Linked DNA regions of Homo sapiens: region 2 is linked to region 1. The links are contacts of gene promoters, found by promoter capture Hi-C in human tissues and cell types (Jung and others, 2019). All regions are on one chromosome and are shown on one strand. The core of a region is centred on a gene start or on the middle of the fragment in contact, and the rest is flanking DNA. Distances in the headings are between cores, read along the strand shown. Region 1 holds the start of STX16-NPEPL1 (STX16-NPEPL1 readthrough (NMD candidate)). Region 2 overlaps ZBP1 (Z-DNA binding protein 1).

Region 1 (6,343 bases), core at 442-2,941:
ACAGTAATTTTTCCAGGACCACCCTTAAAAAACGCTACTGCTAGGCTAACTAAAGGTTGTGGTTAATTAAAAAAAAAAAGTGCTATTTTACGGGGTTAATTTTCACATATACCTCCTCAGGCTTTTTTTAAAAAGTTCGAATGGAGAGGAAAGCTTAATTTCCTGTCTGGGAAATGGAAAGTGAAGAGGCTAGCACCTTGAGTCTCACAAACGCAAGCCCCCAGGAAGAACAGTGAGGCAATTATTCACAGGGAACAAGGCCACACAGAGGGCTGCGGGGCCGTTAAAAGAAAACGGGCGGAAAAACAAAACAAAACAAAACAACAACACAACTCCCTCCTCTTTGAGGGGAGGGAGTCGTTCATTTTGCAAGGATTTGGGTCTACGATCCGGCGACCCAGCCCTTAGGACCAAACTGAGGCTCATTACTGGGGGGAGGGGAGCTTCAAACAAAACGAAACAAAAAGGCTTCAGAAAGGCCCAATGCTTCCCAATGTTAGCGTTAAAACATATGTAAATTACAGGCGGCCTGTAGCGCAGTGACGCCAAGGCGGGGGGTGCGGGGGGGGGGGTGCTGCGGAAGTGAGGAGAAGACCGGGCAGAGGTGGAGCTGCGGCCTCACAGCACCGCTTCTTCCTCATCCAGGGCTACAGATGCCCCCTGACTCTAGCCAAGAGATCTTATTATTCTTAGTCTTATTATTCTTATCTTCTCTTTTTAAACAGAGAGACAGACAGAGACAGACAAACAGGCAGAGCCGCAGTGCACACGGTCCGTGTGTCGGAGAGGCCGCCAGGAGACTCACCGCAGCAATGCTACGTGAATGCAGAGGGCTGGAGGTGATGTGACTACTCACTTGCTCGGCTAACAGCTGCCGGTTTTGGATGGAATTATTCCGCAACAACAAGAAAGCGTCGGTTAAACGCCTGGTGGCCATGTCTCACCCTTTGCGACCCCCCTCTCAGGGGCCCCCCGCCCACTTATATTCCTGATTTATTCACTTTCTTTCTCGTGGCCCGGCTGGCCCACCCTTTCACGGAAGCTTCTCGACAAGGCCTCAGGCCTCAAGCCAAAAAGATGCAGCTGTGCGCTTCGCCAAGGCGTAGAGACCCCTCCCCAAATAACTACCTAGGCTTTCCAATTGTCTGACTCCCCCTACCCAGGGCAGACTTCGATCTCTAAGCACTTGAATCCCCCCAATCCTTGCGTAGCGATCCAACGTCCCAGAGACCCCACCCCAATCCAACCTTGGATCTACAAGCGTCTAACTCGCCAATCCGGCTCTAGACTGGGAGGCCCTGAAGCCCCCTACTCCCTGAGACCCCCCGGAGGTCTCTGCTCTCTACCCCTAACTTTGGCTCGTAAGCGTCTAGGCCGTGCCCTGAGGTCTGGCTGTGACTCAGTTTCCGCACCAGAGGCCTGGCCTAGGCCCTCTTTGGACAACCGGAGCCAGGCTTGGGGCCTGGACTCGAGGGCGCCTGCAGCTCCCTTCTGGGGACTTGTCTGAACCTGCTGAGGCCCTGCCCGACCTCCTGACCCCTTCCTTTCCTGGACGGCCTGGTCCTCCACTGCCAGCAGGCTGCCGGCCTGCAGGAAGACAGCAGGGCCTGCCTCCCCGGCCTTCTCACTCCTCTTCTCCGGCTCCCTCCATCCCCGGATCTGACTGCAGCTCAGCCCCGGACCGTTTCCGTGCTGTGGTCCCGGGTTCTGGCGTTCCCCCCTGGCCCTCTTCCTGTCCGTCCCTCGCGAGTGCCCCCCTGCGACGCTCGCAAGCCTTGCTCGCAACGTTCCGGGCGCGGGAGCTCCCTGCACTCCTGCCCCGGGGCACGGGAGTGCTCCGCCCTCTCCCGGGGTGCTCCTCGGGCGCCCTGTTTCGCCTCCCCCAACTGGGTCCAGGCACTAGGAGCAGGCCAACGAGCAGGCCTGAGCCTGGGGAGCGTGGCCCCCAGGCTGCAAACCGCTGCCAGGGCCCTTGGTCGCTGAATTAGAGTGGAAGTTGCGCGGCAGGCAAATTTGGGCTCCCCAAGAACTGAAGTTTTGGGCGCGGGGAGTTGGAGCGGGAGAGGAAAAGTTGGAGACGACTGCCTCTGCAGGCCGAGCACGCTCTACTGCAGGCGGCGGCGCTCGCTTTTTTTTTTTTTTTTCCCACTCTGGAAAAAGATGTATCCGACAAACAACCACGAGGAAATAAAAGGAAAAAAAAAAAAAAAAAAGGAACAAGAACTCCAGGCAGCCTGGCCGCGCCGCCGCTGGCAGTCGGGGGTCGTCGGGGGCGCCCGCCCTCCCCAGCTGCCGCTTTCTGTAGGGGGCACTGCAGGGTCGTGGAATCTCAAGTGGAAAAGTTCCCCGAAAACTTTGACACCTCCCACCCCCCTCCCCGCGAAAAAAATCTCTGTTCCCTGCCTGGGCCCTGGCCCTGCGACCCCCGCGCCCCCCCGTGCCCCGGGCCGGGTTTTCCACGGTTGGCCGGGCCCAGGGCGCCCTAAGCACCTCGACTTGCCGCCCCGGGCCAGGTCGGCGGGGTTCGTGCAGGGGCTCCGTGGGGCCGCGTCGGGCAGGGGCCGCCCGGGCCCGAGCACGGCACCCACAAACAGGCTGGCGTCCCGCGACGGAGACCCGGGTCCGGCCCGGAGCCGCCCGGGAGGCTTGAGGCCAAGGGCCTGGCCCAGCGCGCGGCCGGAGCGGGTCGGGGGCGCAGAGCTGTGCGGCGGCGCCTTCCGGGCCCCGGGCCTGTGCAGGGCCGGCTTCCCCTTGCGGGGCGAGGCTGCGGGCCGGGCTGCGGTGCGGGGTTCCAACAAAGGACCGAGGCCCCAGAAGCGGCCCCCACGCGTCCTTTGTTTCTGCGTGGAACAAACTTTACACACGTGTGTGTTTTCCGAGGGTTTCCCGTGTGCTGAGCGCTTGCAAAGCGGAGTCGCGCCCGGGGAGACGCGAAGCCGGTGCCCGCGGCTCACCCAGGGACCCCAGCCAGACAGCGGCACCCGCGGGGCGCGTGCGGGACCCCCAGGCGACCGGGGGAAGCACCGGTAACCGCCCCCCACCCGTGCTTTTTCTCTCACGGAGAATGTTCCCGCGCGTTCGTTGTGCAACTAAAAATTAATGTGAAACATCCATTGAGGCAAATAACAAAATGCATCCAACGAAACCCACATAAAATCGAGAGAGCCGCGAGCAGGGCTGGGCGAGTTCACTGTGAGGACCGGCTCTGGCTTCCGCGCAGCGCGGAGAGCAGGGCGCTCGCCCGGGGACGCTTCGCAGCGGTGGAAGATTCGGGCGACAGGGGACTGGGTCGCCGCGCGGGCCGGGCTGGAGGCTGCAGGGACTTGCTGACAGGCCATCCAAAGACAGAGAGGCCCTGGGGAGGGAAATTCGGGGAGCCCGTGTGCTTAGCGTAGCGCCCCGGGAAATATTTGCCCAATAAGGGAGAGTTTGTCCCCACACTGCGGCAGAACCCCCCTGCGAGCTCTGACCCCAGCAGCACGGCCAAGCCCCCCCAACCCCGCTCCCCCCTTTAGGGGACAGGTATTTGTAAATAACAACTGAGCTGGTCGTCGGTAGGAGAATCAGATTAGAAACATGGTCCCCACTCTCTTCCTATCTCCCCAGCACTCATCACCTCACAAAGCAGGGGGGGACCTGTTTACTTTTCCTGGCGCTCTCCCCCAGGCTAGAACGTGATCTTCTTCCTACGCAGGGACAGTGTTTTATTCATCTTTGTACCCACTGCCATCTCATCTGGCTTGGAACAGGCTCCGGATAAATATTTTTTAAATATGTGCATGAATTAATGAGAGACTCGAGATTTAGTCCCCAAACTCTCTGACCTCCCTCGAGTGACTTTAAGCCTTTAGAGCCCTTATCTGTTAAGAAAAAAAGAAAAAAATGTGGGTTTTTCGTAATCCTCGTAATCCGCGCCCTGTCTACTTCTCTGGGGTTATTGTGAAGATCAAATAAGGTAAGTGAAAACTCTTTGTAAACTACCAGGTGCTGAGCAAATATTATATAGGATGGTTATTCATTCATTCCCTCCGTTCAGGAAGCTTAGCAAAGTAATTCCTGGTCTTGTGTTTCAGCAGATGGTGGTCGCCTTTCCTGGTCAGTCTTAAATATTTATTACAGGACAATCTCATTCTTACATTTAGGAGATCAATCAAGCTTCCATTTCTTTGAGCGAAATGAACACTGCTTGCACACAAATAATGGAAGAAAAATCCTGGTATTCCCAAAACAGCCACCCCAAGCAACCCAAGAGCCTAACAGCGGGGAGGTCAGGAAAATCCAAGAAGTTGGCATAGCAGCCCAAAGGCAGCACCGTGCAGCTCTGACCAGGCCCCAAAGGCAGCACCGTGCAGCTCTGACCAGGCCCCAAAGGCAGCACGGTGCAGCTCTGACCAGGCCCCAAAGGCAGCACCGTGCAGCTCTGACCAGGCCCCAAAGGCAGCACCGTGCAGCTCTGACCAGGCCCCAAAGGCAGCACCGTGCAGCTCTGACCAGGCCCCAAAGGCAGCACCGTGCAGCTCTGACCAGGCCCCAAAGGCAGCACCGTGCAGCTCTGACCAGGCCCCAAAGGCAGCACCGTGCAGCTCTGACCAGGCCCCAAAGGCAGCACGGTGCAGCTCTAAGCAGGCTGTGTTTAGGTATGGGATTGTGTGCCTGAAATAGTGTTAACCAAGAGGGAGCCCAGAGAGGGCATGCACCCCTGGCTCCAGTCACGTCCATGGTCCATGTTCGCCCTGACCCACACTGGAAGGGAGTTGGGGAAGGATGTAAATCATTATATTTGAATGTTCCTTGGCTGTTTTATTTTCCTGTCAAGTGACTTAAGCTTGATTTTTTTTTTTTTTTAAAGCATTCCCCCATGGCCAAGTATGTGTTTCCTTGGAATTGAAATCTAGGTTGATGGTTTTACATTTTAAAAGCTTTCATTGTGACTCATTCTTGGCCTGGGCTAGGATTCGGTAATACTCCTCGGGCTTGGTGAGGCTCCGTGTCCTGTTTCTTGGGCTTCATACCCACTTTCTAACATTCTGCCAACGAATCCAATAAGTCACTTTTGGGGACAAGTGTTTCATTGTTTTCTTGTCATCTCATTCAGTGCAGGAGGAAGCCCCATTGAAGCCAGGCCATGGCTTGGGCAGGTGCAGGTTTTCAAGTACTGAGAGGGGATGGTTAGCTCAACAGGTCAGCAGTGGGACACACACCCTTTGGTGAAAACAATTTAAATGAGATAGGGCTCATGTAAGCCCTTATACAACCTCAGCATAGAGTAAGTGCGCCACAAATGGGCAATATGATTTATTACAGCAGTAGTCTTACTGTTGGAAAGCTCACGTGGGCTCTGCTCTCCCTGGAAGGCATCATAAACTCCAAAGAGAATGGCATGGTATTGAGAACTGAACACTTGGAAATCTAAGCACGTTTCCGAGCTTCTTGTTCTGGACCTTGGGAATCCAGATGTGTCTGCAGTGCACACTCATGTGGAAGAGGGGGCTAAACCATCTCAAAGACACCTTTTAACATTGGTCTTTCTCCCACCTATAGAAAGACAGATGGTTGTTTGCTTATCAAGCAGCAAAAGCCCCCAGGCCTAACATATGTCTCGTCTGCACAGATCTGACAGACAGATTCGGGCCAGGTTCGGGTAACAGGAGTTGTGTGTTCTGTGTCCCCAAATAGTTCCTCAAAACCTTGAGTATTTCCAACAACAGAAAACTCCCTATCTGGGTCTGTCTTCAGCTATGATGCCTCTCCCAAGAAGGGAGACTCTGGAGAGAGGCAACACTTTTGTTTTGTCTGGAGTCCCGTAGCTTTTAATACCAGACAATTCAATACAGTAGGCATTTCTAAAAATCTACCAGTGGCTGTGCCTATCTCTTGCCAGGCACTGCTGAAAGAATGAAACAGCAAAACTCTTGCCTTCAGGGAATTTGCATCTCCACTGTCTCTACCCAAATTCTGGTTCTCATCGTGTACATTTTCCCAGCAGCCTGCTAACAACCACCCGTCTCTTCCCTCCTCATCCTGCAGCCACAGTGACCTTTCCAAAGCATAAATCTGATCATGTCACTGCCTGATTGAGGCCCTGAAACAGCTCCCTCTGGCCCATGCCAGCCGATCTCAAATGACGCTCAGCAGAAAACAGGTGCTCTAAGTTGAACCAAGCTGGGCATCACTAATATTAACTAATGATGGACTTTTCTTGGTTGTCAGAAAAAAAAAAATGAAGCTAATTAATGGAGTAGTCTCCATCTTAAGTGTTTCTCTTCTCGCTTTCTCTTAAACCTTCAGTCCCTGCCACCACTTGGCTGTATTAGAATATAGTATAAGACTAGATCTGATTTAT
Region 2 (6,345 bases), core at 3,752-6,251, 1.0 Mb after region 1:
GATCCAATAGGTGCATGGCATTCTCAGGGGTCCTTGAAAATGTTTTAATTTTAATTTCATTTAAAATCAGAGGAAATGAATACTACAATAATAATGAATATCTAAAAATGGGCCAGGCACGGTTGCTCACGCCTGTAATCCTAGCACTTTGGGAGGCTGAGGCGGGCAGATCACCTGAGGTCAGGAGTGACCAGTCTGGCCAACATGGCGAAACCCCGTCTCTACTAAAAATACAAAAATTAGCCAGGTGTGGTGGTGGGCGCCTGTAATCCCAGCTACTCGGGAGGCTGAGGTAAGAGAATAGCTTGAACCTAGGAGGCAGAGGTTGCACTGAGCTGAGATCGCGCCATTGCACTCCAGCCTGGGCAACAAAAGCAAAACTCTGTCCCCCAAAAAATAAAATAAAATAAAATTTAAAAATCCAGCCTGGGTTATCCTTGCTATACAATGTAATTTAAATATTTGTGTATGGGGGAAGGGCCCACAAAGGCACAGGAGCTGAGACCCTGGAGGGTGGTGATGGGCCCCGCACAGTCTGGGCAGGTGCCTGCCTCAACCTCTGCAGGGCTGACTCTGCTACTCATGACGGGTGCCCGAGGGGGTCTCAGCATCCTAGGGCTGCTGTGAGGAAGGAATAACGCGTGACAGCCACCAGATTTTAAACACTAGTGACAAATTCAAATATTGAAAATGTCATGGGAGCCAAACACGACCGATCTGGCCCAATGGGCTGCTGTTTCTCGGCCATTACTCAAGGGAAAAGGGCAATGGTGCAGGTGCTCGGGGGTCCGGGCTGTGGCTGCCCCCTAGGGAGAGCAGTGTGGGGCCCCTGCGGTCCTCCCAGCCAGCAATCATGGCGGCCCAGCCATGGAGGCAGCAAAAGACACAGGTAGGGTGACTCACAGTGGCTATTTTCAAGTGAGGCTCCCTCTGAGGTACCTGTGGTGTCTGTTAAACACCCAGCTCTGGCCTCCCACTTGGCCCTACTGACTCGGAACGCCCAGGGTATTTTAACAAGCTCCCCAGGAGAATTTGGTGCTGCCGACTGGTATTGGGAACCCCTGACCCATAGACAGTGGCAAAGGGATACAGTTGAATATTATTTTGCAGAAGATTCTGGAAGAAGAGCAAAGTCAGCCTCAATTATTTACCAGCACAATCCAATCAACATGATCTGCCAGAATGGACCCAACAGCTGGATTTCCATTGCAAACTCCGAAGCCATCCAGATTGGACACGGGAACATCATTACAAGACAGACAGTCTCCAGGGAGGACGGTAAGTCACCCAAGAGAGCCCAGGGAGGGGACCTCGGTGGGGAGCCACCGGATCCTCTGGGTGGGGGCAAAGGGTAGGGATGGGGAGTGGGGGGATTCTGCCCTCCAAGGGGAAAGGGTTGCTTCCAGACCCCCACAGTCCACCTTTACGGCCGTCCTGAGAATGAGGACACCTGGATCAAAGCTCTCCTGATTTCCCTGTACTCTGATACTTTCTACCTCATTTTAAAGTTTAATTTAATTTTTATTTTTCTAATAAAATTTTAAAATTAAGATGGGGTATCTCTGTGTTGCGCCTGACCTTATGCCTCATTTTCAATGGGGTCCGGTGTTTTTCATGAGAAACAACTCAATTGCCTTTCCCTCCGCGGAATGCTACAGGGGAGGTTATTGTAGTACCGTATTTGTTCTGAGACACGCTACTTTCCCCCACATTTTAACAGGCTGGAAACTGGGGTGCATCTCACCACCTGTGGCATCCTAGTTTGGATGAAATGCGGTGTTGCACTTTGAGCACTTACCCTGTGCCGGGCACTGTGGCAAGAGGGGACAGAGCCACCTGTCAGCCCAGCCTTGTCACCTGTGAGTGACAGCATCAGCCCCAAAGTCGGGACACTCCCTGTAACCTTGGGAGAACCTTTCCCCACTGTCAGCCTCAGTTGTGAAATGAGGAACCTTGTTCTAGAATCTAGATCATGGTTTCCCTAGCTTTAATCTTCTGAGCCCCACCTTCCTGATTCTGGCCATACCCATGTCTGATTATTTAATTAATGTTGTTGAGTAGTGCACCTTTTTAAAAATTTATTTTAAAACAATTTTATAGTATTATTTTAAGTGTAAATCATGAAAAACACCATAAAAATAAATGTTGTCCCTGGCAGTTAAAACACTGCGGGAGGCTCTGAGCCTTTGGTGTTGGCACCAAACGAGACTTGGTCCCCATGAGGTCAGAAGGCTCGGGAGTGACTGGGAATCAGAACAAGGAGCTCATTGTTTGGGTTTGTGAGTGTCCCTGCAACACCCAGGACCAGCCCCGCTCCTGAGAACTCAGGGAGCCCCAAAATGAGCTATTCCGCCAGGTCCTCTTGCTCTCTAAGCCAGAGCCTGAAGTCTTTGGCCGCCAGTTCGATGGTGTCCAGGAAGAATTCAGAGGACAGGCCTGCGTGTGGTGGTGAGGGAAAGGAAGAAGCCTGCAGTAATCTCCGGTGAGGCTGTGCCACTGTCCCCTGCCAGGTTCCGCCGGTCCACGCCACCTCCCTTCAATGGCACCAGGTGATTCCTCAACTTGGGGGACCCTAGTTGATCCCTGGGGGCCCCAGGACATCCACATGGAGCAGTCCATACTGAGACGGGTGCAGCTGGGACACAGCAATGAGATGAGGCTCCACGGCGTCCCGTCCGAGGGCCCTGCCCACATCCCCCCTGGCAGCCCCCCAGGTAACTGGGATCTAGAGGCCAGACCCAACTCTGCCACCCCGTGGGTCCTCACTGGAAGGAACTGGAGCCAGAATCTTTTTGGGAAGAGAAGCATGATGGGAAATTCCTTTCCTTCCACCAGGCAGCTGAACCAGAGTAGAGCAGGTGGGGCTTTTAAAGCTAGCACTCTAGGCTGGGCGCGGGAGCTCACACCTGTAATCGTAGCACTTTGGGAAGCCAAAGCGGGTGGATCACCTGAGGTCAGGAGTTCGAGACCAGCCTGACCAATATGGTAAAACGTCTCTATCAAAAATACAAAAAAAAAAAAAAAAAAAATTAACCGGGCATGGTGGCTTGCGCCTGTAGTCCTAGCCACTCGGAAGGCTGAGGTAGGAGAATTGCTTGAACCTGGGAGGCAGAGGTTGCAGTAAACGGAGATCGCACCACTGCACTCCAGTCTGGGTGACAGAGTGAGACTCCATCTCAATAAATAAATGAATAAAATAAAGCTAGCACTCTGGATCCCCATCCCCTACGACCCACTGCAGGAAACCTCAGTTTCCTCATTTGTAAAATGAGCAGAGAAGCAGAGGCTGGGCCAACTGGAGCAGGGTGATGGTTTGAGACTGGAATGGTGTTTAGGGAGGATGGAAGACAGGTGCCGTACTAGGAGCTGTGGCTGCAGTGACCAGAGGGCCCCAGGCAGAGGCCTCCCCCACACTGGGAATGCAGAGATGGGCTGGGGGAGAAGAACCAGCAGAGAAGCCAGAGAGGGAGGAGGAAAGCAGAGGCCCCGGGAAAGGAGTCTCCAGAGAGGGGCCAGGCTGGTGAGACCAGGGAAGCATCTGTGGGGTTCAGCGAGAGGGATCGTGGTAACCTTGAGGGGGTGGTTTCTGGGGGCCAGGGAGCAGAAGAGGTCTCGGGGGTGGAGGGGGCGGGACTCAGTGTGGATGATTCTTCAGAAGTTTGGGTGGGAAAGGGCAGAGCCAGATGGCAGGAGCTGGGGCCAGGCTGGGAGCCCCCATAAGATTTCAACCAAAAGTGGGGGCCAGTGTTCCAGTGCAGTGGGAAGCAGGCAGCAGAGGAGAGAGGAGCTGAATCCCAGAGGAAGACACTGACGTCCAGATCAGCCGGGCGGGATCAGTGGGGCAGACCCACTGCGGGATCAGTGGAGCAGAAAGACGCTTCCCAGACAGCACAACAGCACGAGCGGAGGTGTGGCGGGTGGAGGTGTGGCGGGCAGGCACAGGCTGTGCTCCTGGGATGGTGTGGGCCACTGGTGGGAGATCTGGGGAGGAGGGTGAACCAGGCTGGGGGTCAGGGTTCCCGGCCACTGTCCAGCTGCTCCTGGCTCCAGGCCTCTCTCCCTTTGACCCACAGTCTCTGCCACTGCTGCCGGCCCAGAAGCTTCGTTTGAAGCAAGAATTCCCAGTCCAGGAACTCACCCTGAGGGGGAAGCCGCCCAGAGAATCCACATGAAATCGTGCTTTCTCGAGGACGCCACCATCGGCAACAGCAACAAAATGTCTATCAGCCCAGGGGTGGCTGGCCCAGGAGGAGTCGCAGGGTCTGGAGAGGGGGAGCCAGGGGAGGACGCAGGTGAGCTAGGGGGCAGAGTGGACCCCTGTGTGTTCTCTCTCTCTCCCCACCTTCCACTCATTCATTCATTCACTCTCATCGATCATTCGCTAATCTCTGGTTTCCCGGAGTCTGGAGGCTGTGCCCACCCACAGCGAGGAGCAGCAGCTCTAGAGTCAGCGTGGAGGCTCCGTCCCCCTAGTGGAGGGACCCACCCAAGTCATTTCACCCAGGAGCCTCTGTCTCCTTAGCTGTAAAGTGGGATGGCAAGAATAGCCTGAAGCAACTCCTACAGTGGTTGCAAGACTGGGGTAAAATCTGAAGGCGAAGCTCAGCCCTACACCAGCCCTGCCAGCATTCAGGAGATAGGAGTGTTATTGTCTCATCATTGTTGTGGTGATTGTTTTGGGCCCGAGAGAGGTGCTGGGTTGCCATGCAAATAAGGTTCTGCATCAGGGCACAGGCTGACCTGCTGCAGTGGAGATGCCACACACGGTGGCCCCGCCTGCTTGAAGCCCAAGTCTCATGTCCGGGTGAGGGTAGCAGACCAGGGTTTCTTTTACCTCAGTGCTGAGTCGTCCCTTGGGCTCCGTCCTCATCTGTGGGGTTGAACTTAGCACCAGCAAGCAGAGGGGCGAGAGAGGGTACAGAGAGCCGCTGTTGTCTTTGACCAAGCCCACCCACTGCATCTGTGCTGTTCTGAGGGCCTGCACTTAGCCACGGGGGGTCTGGGAAGTGCCGCCTGTGTCAAGGCAGTCTAAGCCCAGCAGAGACTCAGGGGAGGGGGCTCCACTGCCAACAGGAAGAGGGGAGAGGGGAAACCAGTGCGGTTCACCGTCCCAGCCACCGTTTGGTCCCTGGAAGCTGCACAGGCTGGTTGCAGAGCCTGAGGATTCCAACTCTGCAGAAGGGAGCTCGGGGCCTCGGGTGGGGGCAGCTGGAGAGTTGGGCAGGTCCACGCAAGGTGGGGAGGGCCAGGGCAGGTGTACCTGGTGGGTGGAACAGTGTGGACAATGGCCTGGAGGTGAGGACATGACAGTGTGGGAACCCACAGGGGTTTGAGGGTGACCTGAGCATGGAGAGCAGAGCCAGGGCCTGGCTCCAGGCTGCAGTCGATGCTAAGGCAATTGGAAGCCATGGGGGGCTTTGAGCAGGAGAGGGGCTGGATGAGATTTTTGCCTCCCATGTGAAAAAAGAATTAGAAGGCGGATTTCCGCTCCTACCCTTTTGGGATCTGGAATAAGGAATCACACCCAGTCCCACCAATGGGTAGAAAACATGGATTCACGGAATCTGGAGGACTGGCCGGCATCCACCCTCCAGTGCCTGAAGGCCCAGGGGATGCATGTCCTGGAAGTCCAGAGGGTCTCCTCACCCCAAGGGCCGTGTCCTTGCTGTCCCAGCAACTGAGGAGACCCTGGCCCCACGTGTCTTCAAACTCTCCCTCCAGGACCCCTGGGAGCCCCATGCACATGTGACACCTGCAGAACGGGGACCAGGAGCGCATTCCTCAGGACTCAGGCCATGAGCATCTGGGAGCATGGACTTCCTTCCAGCAGCAAAGGGAGTCTCTGAGACCTCCAAGGCCACTGGGGACCCTTGGGAGGGCATGTGCCACCAGATGGGGATCCGGCTTAGGACCCCACAGCACAGGCTGTCTGCAGAGCCCTGTGGGTCTCAAGCCAGACCATTGAAGACTTCTCTTTCCGGAAAGAACACAGCACTGTGTTTTTTAAAAATAGCCACACTTCTGGGTGTAGTGGCTCATGCCTGTAATCCCAGCACTTTGGGAGGCCGAGGCAGGTGGATCACGAGGTCAGGAGATCGAGACCATCCTGGCTAACACGGTGAAACCCTCTCTCTACTAAAAAATACAAAAAATTAGCCAGGCATGGTGGCGGGCACATGTAGTCCCAGCTACTCAGGAGGCTGAGGCAGGAGAATGGCGTAAACCTGGGAGGCGGAGCTTGCAGTGAGCCAAGATCATGCCACTGCACTCCAGCCTGGGCGACAGAGCAAGACTCTGTCTCAAAAAAAAAAAATGGTCACACTCCCAGATTTGCCCTGCAACATC

Evidence for each region. Contacts are between HindIII fragments. The study calls those that stand out against the background at their distance.
Region 2: a contact is called between a fragment that was not itself captured here and the fragment with the promoter of STX16-NPEPL1 in region 1, in 1 of the 25 tissues and cell types used here (dorsolateral prefrontal cortex).

Annotation. Positions count from the first base shown.
Region 1 is chr20:58,646,601-58,652,943 of GRCh38, reverse strand. STX16-NPEPL1 (STX16-NPEPL1 readthrough (NMD candidate)) reads right to left here and starts at 1,691. Exons shown (of 23, transcript NR_037945.1): 1 at 806-1,691. It overlaps STX16 (syntaxin 16), which reads right to left and starts at 1,661. Exons shown (of 9, transcript NM_001001433.3): 1 at 806-1,661. The coding sequence starts at 937. LOC107985410 (a long non-coding RNA gene) reads left to right here and starts at 3,309. Exons shown (of 3, transcript XR_005647058.2): 1 at 3,309-3,955. RefSeq lists enhancers at 292-795, 633-902, 3,932-4,469 and silencers at 2,399-2,758, 5,157-5,451. The HindIII fragment of the contact is 3,892 bases long and covers 599-4,490 here.
Region 2 is chr20:57,608,096-57,614,440 of GRCh38, reverse strand. ZBP1 (Z-DNA binding protein 1) reads left to right here. Exons shown (of 8, transcript NM_030776.3): 5 at 1,111-1,278; 6 at 2,511-2,714; 7 at 4,074-4,292. Among named protein-coding and RNA genes, the nearest start is that of ZBP1, 9.2 kb to the left of the region's middle. The HindIII fragment of the contact is 6,241 bases long and covers 1,881-6,345 here.